Regions from separate parts of the Homo sapiens genome. Here regions 2 and 3 are each linked to region 1. The links are contacts of gene promoters, found by promoter capture Hi-C in human tissues and cell types (Jung and others, 2019). All regions are on one chromosome and are shown on one strand. The core of a region is centred on a gene start or on the middle of the fragment in contact, and the rest is flanking DNA. Distances in the headings are between cores, read along the strand shown. Region 1 holds the start of DPH2 (diphthamide biosynthesis 2). Region 2 overlaps PTPRF (protein tyrosine phosphatase receptor type F). Region 3 holds the start of LOC124904165 (a long non-coding RNA gene).

Evidence for each region. The method cuts DNA at HindIII sites, captures the fragments that hold promoters and counts their contacts. A contact is called where the count stands out against the background at its distance.
Region 2: a contact is called between a fragment that was not itself captured here and the fragment with the promoter of DPH2 in region 1, in 1 of the 25 tissues and cell types used here (dorsolateral prefrontal cortex).
Region 3: a fragment that was not itself captured here is called in contact with the fragment with the promoter of DPH2 in region 1 in 1 of the 25 tissues and cell types used here (mesenchymal stem cells).

Annotation. Positions count from the first base shown.
Region 1 is chr1:43,968,585-43,971,501 of GRCh38, reverse strand. DPH2 (diphthamide biosynthesis 2) reads right to left here and starts at 1,492. Exons shown (of 6, transcript NM_001384.5): 1 at 1,180-1,492; 2 at 794-906; 3 at 313-536; 4 at 1-115. The coding sequence starts at 1,326. RefSeq lists enhancers at 1-149, 150-696, 1,182-1,461. The HindIII fragment of the contact is 15,505 bases long and covers 1-2,917 here.
Region 2 is chr1:43,565,070-43,567,986 of GRCh38, reverse strand. The region is part of intron 5 of PTPRF (protein tyrosine phosphatase receptor type F); the gene reads right to left. Among named protein-coding and RNA genes, the nearest start is that of PTPRF, 36 kb to the right of the region's middle. RefSeq lists a silencer at 2,099-2,248 and an enhancer at 2,093-2,888. The HindIII fragment of the contact is 5,442 bases long and covers 1-2,917 here.
Region 3 is chr1:43,665,336-43,668,252 of GRCh38, reverse strand. It overlaps KDM4A (lysine demethylase 4A), which reads right to left. Exons shown (of 22, transcript NM_014663.3): 6 at 2,508-2,557; 7 at 1,698-1,801; 8 at 1,162-1,299; 9 at 234-481. It overlaps LOC124904165 (a long non-coding RNA gene), which reads left to right and starts at 421. Exons shown (of 3, transcript XR_007066050.1): 1 at 421-509; 2 at 1,141-1,395. RefSeq lists an enhancer at 742-1,941. The HindIII fragment of the contact is 3,337 bases long and covers 1-2,917 here.

The sequences.
Region 1 (2,917 bases), core at 243-2,742:
CCAAAACGCTCTAGGGGCATAGGCTCTGGACTCAGGGAACCCACTGGTTGGGGAAAAGCTGGGCTGGAGACTAGCAGGTCCAGGTACCGTGGGCGCAGGAGAGTAGCCAAAGCCTCTGGAAGAGAAGGAGGTAGTGTTGAGGTTGGAGCCTGGCAAAGCAGGAGCTCCCTCATCCCCAGGAGACTAAATATGACCCAGTAGGCTGGGGCCAAGCCCATATCAAGAGTTCTATGGATGGTATATGGAAATGGGGAAATTAAGGCATAAAGCAGTTGGCTCACCCTTTGTGCATACACAGGCAAAACCCCTTACCCAGGGCATGGGCACAGGCCGGCTCACTCAGCAGCACCACAGGCGCTTTGGGGTCTGGGTTCTGGGCCTCAAAGGCCTTGACACAGAGCTCCAAGGCCACAGAACGTTGACGAAGCACGAAGGCAACGGGCAGTGGGCGGGCTGGAGGGCTTAAGCAGGCAGGGCCAAAATGTATGAGAGCCTGAGCTCCAGCTTGCTCAGCACCCAGCACATCCACGCAGCAGCTGCAGGGAAGATAGCATCAGAGAAATGGGTTCTCTTCTGGAGGCGAGTTGCTGTCATCACTGGGAAATGTGGTCAGTGAATAAAATGGTTTCATTAAAGGAAGACATTGTCAATGAAAGGAGCTAGCATCAGAAGGGGAGTCATTACCATTATCATCAAGGAGAAACACCACCATTGAAGGCAATCACTGTCATAGACGTAAAACCCCATGAGCCCCGGATCCCCAGGCCTGGCCCACCTAAGGCCAAGTTCACACCTGCCGTAGGCTGTGTCACCCAGAATGAACATCTTTGACCCTGTCGTCTCCTCCAGTCGTGCAGCCACAGCCACAGCATCTCCCAATAGCTGGTCAGGGAACTGCAAGGCAACCTATAAGCATAAACCATGGAGTCAGGGACAGCCTCTCTCCCACTGAGGGCTTCTTTAAAGCAATCTTCCAGGAGCTCCCACTCAACCTTCAAAGCCCCTGGTCCCAGAGGGGCACTCTGCCCCACGTAGTAGGTGGAAGGGAGGGATGGTCAACGCGCTGCGGACAGACTGATTCCCCCACCCTCTCGCCCTCACAAAATCCCCCAAGATCCGGATCCTCTGGGCGACCCATCCCGACAGAGGCGAGCCACCCTTCCCTAAGTCTGTCCTCACTCGTTCACACCCCAGGTCGCGGACAAATCCAGCGACTCGCTCCAGCTCGTACACTCCGTCCAGGTCCGGAAGAGGAGTAAGCAGTCCTGGCACCCCGGTCTCTCGCTGCAGCGCCGCCTCGGCAGGGCTGCTAAACATCGACTCCATGAGGCACAGCTTGGGTGGTGGGATGCAGCGGGGACCTCCCTGGGACAGCTTCGGGGCCTGAGTCCTCTAGAGCAGCCCTCAGGGGGTCAAAATCGCCTTGTGGGGGTAGGGGGAATCACAGTCGGCCTTCAGCCGGTGAGTATCCCCTTCAGCCATCCTAACTACTGTTTCTCCGCTACACGTGGGACTACCGGGGAGGTTACTTCCGGGTTTTAGAGGCGTGGCTGATAGCGATTTTGCCAATCCTAAGTCAGCACAGCTCCCGCCCTCCAATCCCCGCCACCGCCCCGCACAGAGAACCAATGTTCAGCCTGAGTCCCAGGCCAGCCGGAAGTACATCGAGGAAGGCGCGGAGCCTTGTGGGCATTGTAGTTCCCCTGGCCTCCTCTCGGGCGCTGGGAGTCCGGTTCAGCCGACCCGCGGCCATCAGGAACACCGACTTCACTGTTAAGCATTTCACGTGCACTCTATCCTCTGGGCAGTATCACTGCATAATTCTTTCATTCATTCATTTTTTTTTTTTTTTGACAAGGTCTCGCTATGTTGCTTGGACTGGAGTGCAGTGGCGCGATCTCCACAACCTTCACCTCCTGGACTGAAGCCATCCTCCCACCTCTGCCTCTTGAGTAGTTGGGGCTACAGGCGCACCACCACATCCAGCTAATTTTTGTATTTTTTGTAGAGACAGGTTTTTGCCATGTTGCTCAGACTGGTCACAAACTCCTGAACTCAAGCAATCCACTCATCTCGGCCTCCCAAAATGCTGAGAGTACAGACGTGAGCCACCGTGCCCGGCTACACTGCATAATTTTAAACTTGGTGCCGACCGGCTCGGGTTTGAATATTGTGCTTGGTCACTTGCTACTGAGTATCTTAGGAATGTCCCTATGCCCATTTCCTTATCTGAAGAATGGGGAGTTGTGACAATAGTACCTCTTAATAAGATTGTTGTGAGGGTCTAATTAATTTATATACAAAACTTTACAAAGTAGTTCTTTGGATATCGCATGCAGTGAAAGCATTTGCTATTTAATCAGCCAAATACTGAGCACTTACTGTACATTAGGCACTTCATTTTTAGTGTTTACAGTCTTTGGAGTAAGAATTATCCCGAGTGGTACCAAGGACATGACTGGCACATCCTCAAGTCACAGGAGATGCTCTGCACAGCTCCAGCCATCCTCAAACACTGCTGCTTCCCAGCAATACCCCCAGTGCATACCACATAGACCTCTACCCTCCAGCCCCTCACATCCCCTCTACTCCCCATGTTTACTTATATGCAAACACCCCCACATGCAACATCACTTGAAATGCCCTCCTTACATACCTCTGTCAGATACGGAAACTGAGGTTCAAAGAGACTACTTGTGTAATAAGACACTAATTCTGTGGCACAACCAGCATCAAACCCGGATCTATTGAACAGGGAAGGAGTGGGATGAATGTGGGAGTAACGAGTTCCCCATCACCCACAAGGAGATTGAAAGCTCAAGGGTAAAAGTGGGGAGAACTCATTCTGCTCTTCAGATCTTACTGAGGAGAAGCCTGGGGTACCTGAGAGGCAGCCTAGGTGAAACTATAGCTGAGG
Region 2 (2,917 bases), core at 303-2,802, 400 kb after region 1:
CAGAGTGTCTCTCCCAGTGTGGATGCCAGACACACCCAATGTGGGGCAAGGGGAATGTGTGTTCTTTGTCTGTCTCCTGGGGAAGGCGGGGAGCTGGGCTCATGGTGGGGGAGACCAGCACCACTCTACCTCCTTTCCACAAGCCCAGCACAAGATGGGTGTATGGGAACATGTGCCAAGGGAAGTCAGGCTTCTATGCCAGAGTAAAGGCACATGGCATCCTCAGACATGAAGAAGGTAAAGGCTGGCAGAAACTAGCCCTCCCTGGAGCCTCTTGGAGACCCAGGGAGAGCGACTGGGGGGCGGGTAGAAGAGGGAGTTGGACGAGCCCCAACAGGCAGGAGCAAGATACCTATCTATCTGCTGCCAGTCCCAGGGGATGCTCCCCAAGGCTCTAGCTGCCAGGGACATCCCAAAGGGACTGTGGCCCATGAGGAGCAGAGGTCTCAGGCTAGAGAGCAATAGGATTCCCAGCACGGCCTTGCCGCCCCAGCCTTTCCTGGGACCTGGCTGTACGTTTCCCCACCTGCAGCCCTAGAAGTTCTGGATATAAACCCAGTGTCTCCTTGGCTGTAAATATGATCCCACAGTGCCCTTTCAGATTTTTAAAAGTAAAATGTTCAACAGTGGCAAGAGAAGGGAAGGAGGACGGAAATGAAGAGGACTGAGATGCACCAGGCAGGGGATCAGCCTCCTTTGGCCCAGCTGCTGCTTGCTTCCATAGGAAGGCCTGAGGGGGACCAGAGGTGCAGGGCTCACCTCCCCAACACCTGGGGACACTCGGGGCTGCTAGGGCCATCCTGGGTGCCCTCCAGAGCACCAGTCTAACTCTTTCAAGACCTCATTCCTACCTGCCCAGCTCATGGGGAAGACGTGGCCATGGCCTGCCAGAGTCAGGGCCCAGGAGTCAAGTGGCCTTCATCTCCACCCGCAGATAGGGAAGGGAAGGGAAGTACAAATGTGTGCAGCCCTGTGTCTCGGAATCTACTCTGAATTCCTTACACGAGGAAGGTCTTTGGGATTTACGCCAAATTAAGGACAATTAATTTTCCTCCCTCAATTATCACGCCCTCAGTGGCTCTGTCCTTGGCTCAGATCATCCCTCAGGCACTGCCGCCAGAGCCTAAAACCAGAATGTGTGGAGAGCTGTCCATAAAACAGCGGGACCCAAAAGCCAGTCCCCTGTGCCAACTAGGCTTCTAGGCAGCACTCGGAAGTCTGCCACTCTGCCACCCGGGAAGGGAAGTGGGTCTTACAGGAGGGCTCCAGCCCCTCAGGAGCGACTTGCTGCTGCCTCTTCCTTCTCTCCCATCCAGGCGCCTCTGAACATTCAACTCAGCCAAGTACAGCAGCCCTTTCCTGACGCCCACCATGCGCCTGGCCTGGCTGAGCACTGGGCATCCTGGTGTAAACTGATCTATCAGCCAGACTGGCACACTTACCACCTTCCCCCACGGGCACCCGCGGAAGCTGGGTCTACCGCAGCCTCAACACTCAGGCTGAGGACCTGGGCAACTCCTCAGATGATGTCACATGATCACTCCAAACCCATCAACAACTGGGAAAACTGAGACCCAGGTATGAGGGACAGTAAGATTTATGAAGCATTTACTAGGTTCCAGGTACTATGTTAAAATGCTTTACAAAATGACTTAAATCTTTACCAAACCCTTATGAGGTACATGGGCAACCAGGGGCTGAGAGAGATCTAGACATCTGGACACCTGCCCAAGGTCACACAGCTAAATCGGAGGTGGGGCTGGGAGGAGACCGGGTGGTAGGCCCCCAGCCCCAGCGCTCTAGGCGTGAACACCCCGCGCGCGAGAGGGCCGGCAGCCTCCCCCACACCACGCCTCGGCCGGCACGGCTCAGGCTCCACTGCAGAGCCCCGCACACGCGCCGCGGCGTTTGCATCTACCGCAAAGCGAACCCCAGGGTCCCCCACACGTGGACAGTCGCAAGCACCCACCCATTTTCCAACCCCGGGATGCACCAGTCACGCTGAGTCCCCTCAAATCGCCTCCTGTTGGCGCCGAAGGGGAGGAAGGGCCCCTCCCCGCTCCAGGCCAGCCGGTAGCCATGGCGACGGTGGAGCGGCGGGCGCTGCCGCGGAAGGGCTGCGTGTGCCCGAGTCCGTGCAGGCGCGCGCGTCCGCTGTCCGCCCTGGCACCGCCCTTCCCGCCCCCGCCTGGGTGGAGCCTCTGCGCCCCTTCCCAGGCCCCGGCTCCTCAGCTCCAGGGAATCCTCCCACTAGGCTTTCCCGCTTCACCGACGCGGCCCTCCCCTCCACCCCCAACCGGGTGCCCTGCACAGTGCGGGGAGGGGCCATCTGCCTCCTCAGCCTCAGCGCCGGGGGCGTCTGCACTACGCGTCTCAGGGCCATGGCCTGATAAGAGGGTGCCCTGGACGGAAGGAGAAGCCCATGGGGACTTCAGGGGCCTTCAGAGGTACCCAAGAGCCCGAGTCTCCACACCGTTTGCGGATTCTACCCGCATGCATAGACAACATGCACACACATTCCCTAGGGTCTCCCCGGCTCACGCAGATATGTGTGCAAGGTGGGGAGTGTGCACGTGTGTGTGAATGCCTCCTGCACCTAACTGCGCTGGCCTTTACCCACTGCAGCAAGGAGACCTGTCCCCTTCCGTGGAGAGGTTTGGTTGCCCCATGGGCAGAAGACGATGACAAGCCCTAGCGAGGGGAGGGTCGGGGGTCGATGGTGGGAATCCAAGGTTCAGAAGTGGATGAGCGCTTGGCTAACCTCCCACAGCAGTGTTGGAGCTGATCGGTTTGACTCCACAGCTCACTTGCTATCTTGGTGGCTTCCTGGAGGAGGGAGATTCAAGAACAGGAAACACATGAGCATGGGAGGCAGAAAGCTTTCCAGGGAGGAGGGGAAAACTGCCTTTGTAAAGGC
Region 3 (2,917 bases), core at 285-2,784, 300 kb after region 1:
TCGGGAGGCTGAGGCAGAAGAATGGCCTGAACCCGGGAGGCGGGGCTTGCAGTGAGCCGAGATCGCACCACTGCACTCCAGCCTGGGCGACAGAGCGAGACTCCATCAAAAACAAAAACAAAAACAAAAACAAAACAAAACAAAAAAAACAAGAAACAGCCTCTCCACAGATTACAGGACCTACCCAGACATCCCTCCCTCACGCAGCCAGGACAAAAGGGCTGCTGGGTTACCTTGTCTTCAGGTCTCCTTCCTCTCCATCCTCCACCCCTTCCATGTCCTCCTCTGGGCACTCCTCCTCGTTGCCAGCTCTTGGAGGCAGTTCACTCTCCTTAAGAAACTCAGCTGCTTCTGGCGTGGGCAGAGTATGGTCAATAACTGTGTTGTCCTTCCCAGCTTTCCAAAGTTTGTACCTTTCTGGCTGGAACTTTCTCACAAACACATCCATGGAGATCTTCACCATGTCCTTTCTACAGGAGCACTGTCAGCAGGAACCAGAAGAGCACCAGGTGAGCATACCTTGCTGCTTCCAACTCACCCCCACGTCCTAGCTCCTCCCTCCACATGGAAACAAGTGCAAGATGGTTTATAACCAGATTGTTTTGGTTCACAGGCTGAGGGCATGTTATCCTTGCAGGACCTTCAAACATGAAGGGAAGCAGGGAAAAAAAGGCAGAGAGCACATGCTACTGGGGCAAATCTACCTGGGCACTAACTCGGGGTCACAGAGGGTGGTTAGGCTCTGCACTTAGGCCCCCAGGACGGTGAGCCACCTGCCCTTGTTCCCTGTCCAAGCCAGGAACACACAAGCAAGTCTACTACTATCAGTCAAAGGCCCGACCCTGCTGCTTCCCTAGAGTAAAGGAAACCCCTAAAAATTTCAACAGAGAAATCTCGGAATGGATAAACAAGAGTATTAACGTGTGTGGATGTGGTTTTAATGCCTAATGGACTTAAGAACCTCATTTTATACTTCCCAATTCTGAACACATTTTTAAAAATTCCTTATGAACACAAAATGTTAGTACTCTGACACATTGCTAGCTGCTTGTTTCTGAATTCCAGCAGCTCAAAGAAATACTCTAATCACCAGCCAACGTATCTAACCAGAATTTGCTCATTTTTGTCATGGTGTTATAGAAAGAAATCAAGCAGACTTACCAGCACAGCTTGCTTGCCGTACTCAATCCACCGACGGGTAGCAAAATTGGTAGACTCCGCACAGTTAAAACCATGGTTAAAGCCGGCATGGTAACCATAAGGGAAAGTGATCATAAACTCTCCAGCCTCTTGAGTCACCTGAACAAGAGCAGACTTGAAGCAGCTGCTTCAAATGGCAGAAGTCCACAGAACTGGAATTCTGAGCTCCACCACAACTTAGCTGAGTAACAAAGGGTAAGTCATAAAACCCCTGGGGTCCTTGCTGTCTTCTATAAAATGCAAAGCCCAGACATATCAGATGACATGACTATAATTAACCATTCCTCCAAATGAACACTGTTCTAGGGGATCTGACTCTCCTCTGGCACCAGGAAGCTACAGTGGCCCCACCTTTAATGCTCTTAGATCAAAGTGTTGTTACATAGTTTATTTAAGCTTTGGCCCCCTCTTGGTATAGTGATGAACTAGAATAAAACTGTAAAACAAAGGCCAGAAAGGGTGGTGCCTGAGAACTTTGGCATGTAACATCAGCTCACCTTGTCAAAGGGAATTCCATATTTCTTCAGCATTAACGGGGAAATCAGGGTCATCTTGTGGCGGAGAAATGCCTCACAGCTTTGAGCACTTCCTGGGAAAAAGCCTATTTAATTGAAAGGGTACAGGTTAACACAGTGCTCCACACTAGCTCCGCAATCCTGGAGTCACTTCACACCTGTGCTTCTCATCGGAATGATAAAGAGGATGCATCACCAATGTGACCTCTGAGGATCCTTATAGCTCCGCACCAATTCTAAGATTCTGCAATGAGCCTCTAGGCTCACTCCCATGTAGGGCATTACGTGGGTAATGAAATCCTGTTTGGGAAACCAAGGTCACCCAAGCTGCCTCTGTTCTTATAGAGCTTTGAAACTATTTAGGACCTTTTCTCCAGTCACTTGTATCCCTGATCTTTTTTCAGTAATGCAGCTGTAGTATCATCTACCCAGGCTTTCCTATGTTCTCCAGACATACAAATCTAAGTCCACTTAAAAGAAACAAAGCATAAAGTTCAATTTTTTCTTTAACATTTGGGTCTTTAGTGGAAACACCAGTCATACTGGGTCTGGTTCATTATCGCTGGTCAAAGAAACACCCCTGCTCATTAAAACTGAGGCACAGACAGTCAGGACAAAGGAAGAAAAGGCTCCGTCACTGCCCTCTTAAGGTAACCAGTGTGGCTCACCCCCGTCTGCAGGCCTGCAACAGGACCTGCAAGTATCTGACCATGGGGAACGCACATTTTAGTGCAGAGCAAGGAGCACAGCTCATAGGAGGGTCCAATCCAGCAAACAGAAGAGACACAGTACCTTTGGCGAGGCGTTCCAACCGCTTTCCATGCTCAGGTGGAACAGAGTACCTGCAATCACATGAGAGCATCAGAGGCTGGGTGGAGGGCAGGTACAGAAGCTAAGGGACTTATTCCCACTCTCAAAACACCTTGAAATAGCAGATTTTTTTTTTAACTTCCCAAGCAGTAGAAAGGAATCTGAAAAAATGAAATATTAGACTGTTTGGGCACAGGAGTAAGGAGCCCATAAAGAAGGTGAGTGAATTTATTTCTTCTATATTCATTCACTTAATAAGATGTTTATTAAGTGTTCACCATGAGCCAGGATTTACGGTACATAATATTACTCTCCTTTATAATGTTGTTCATATAATAACATTTTTTAAAAGAAAAAAAAAGAAGGATGTCACTATATAACCTCAGTATTTA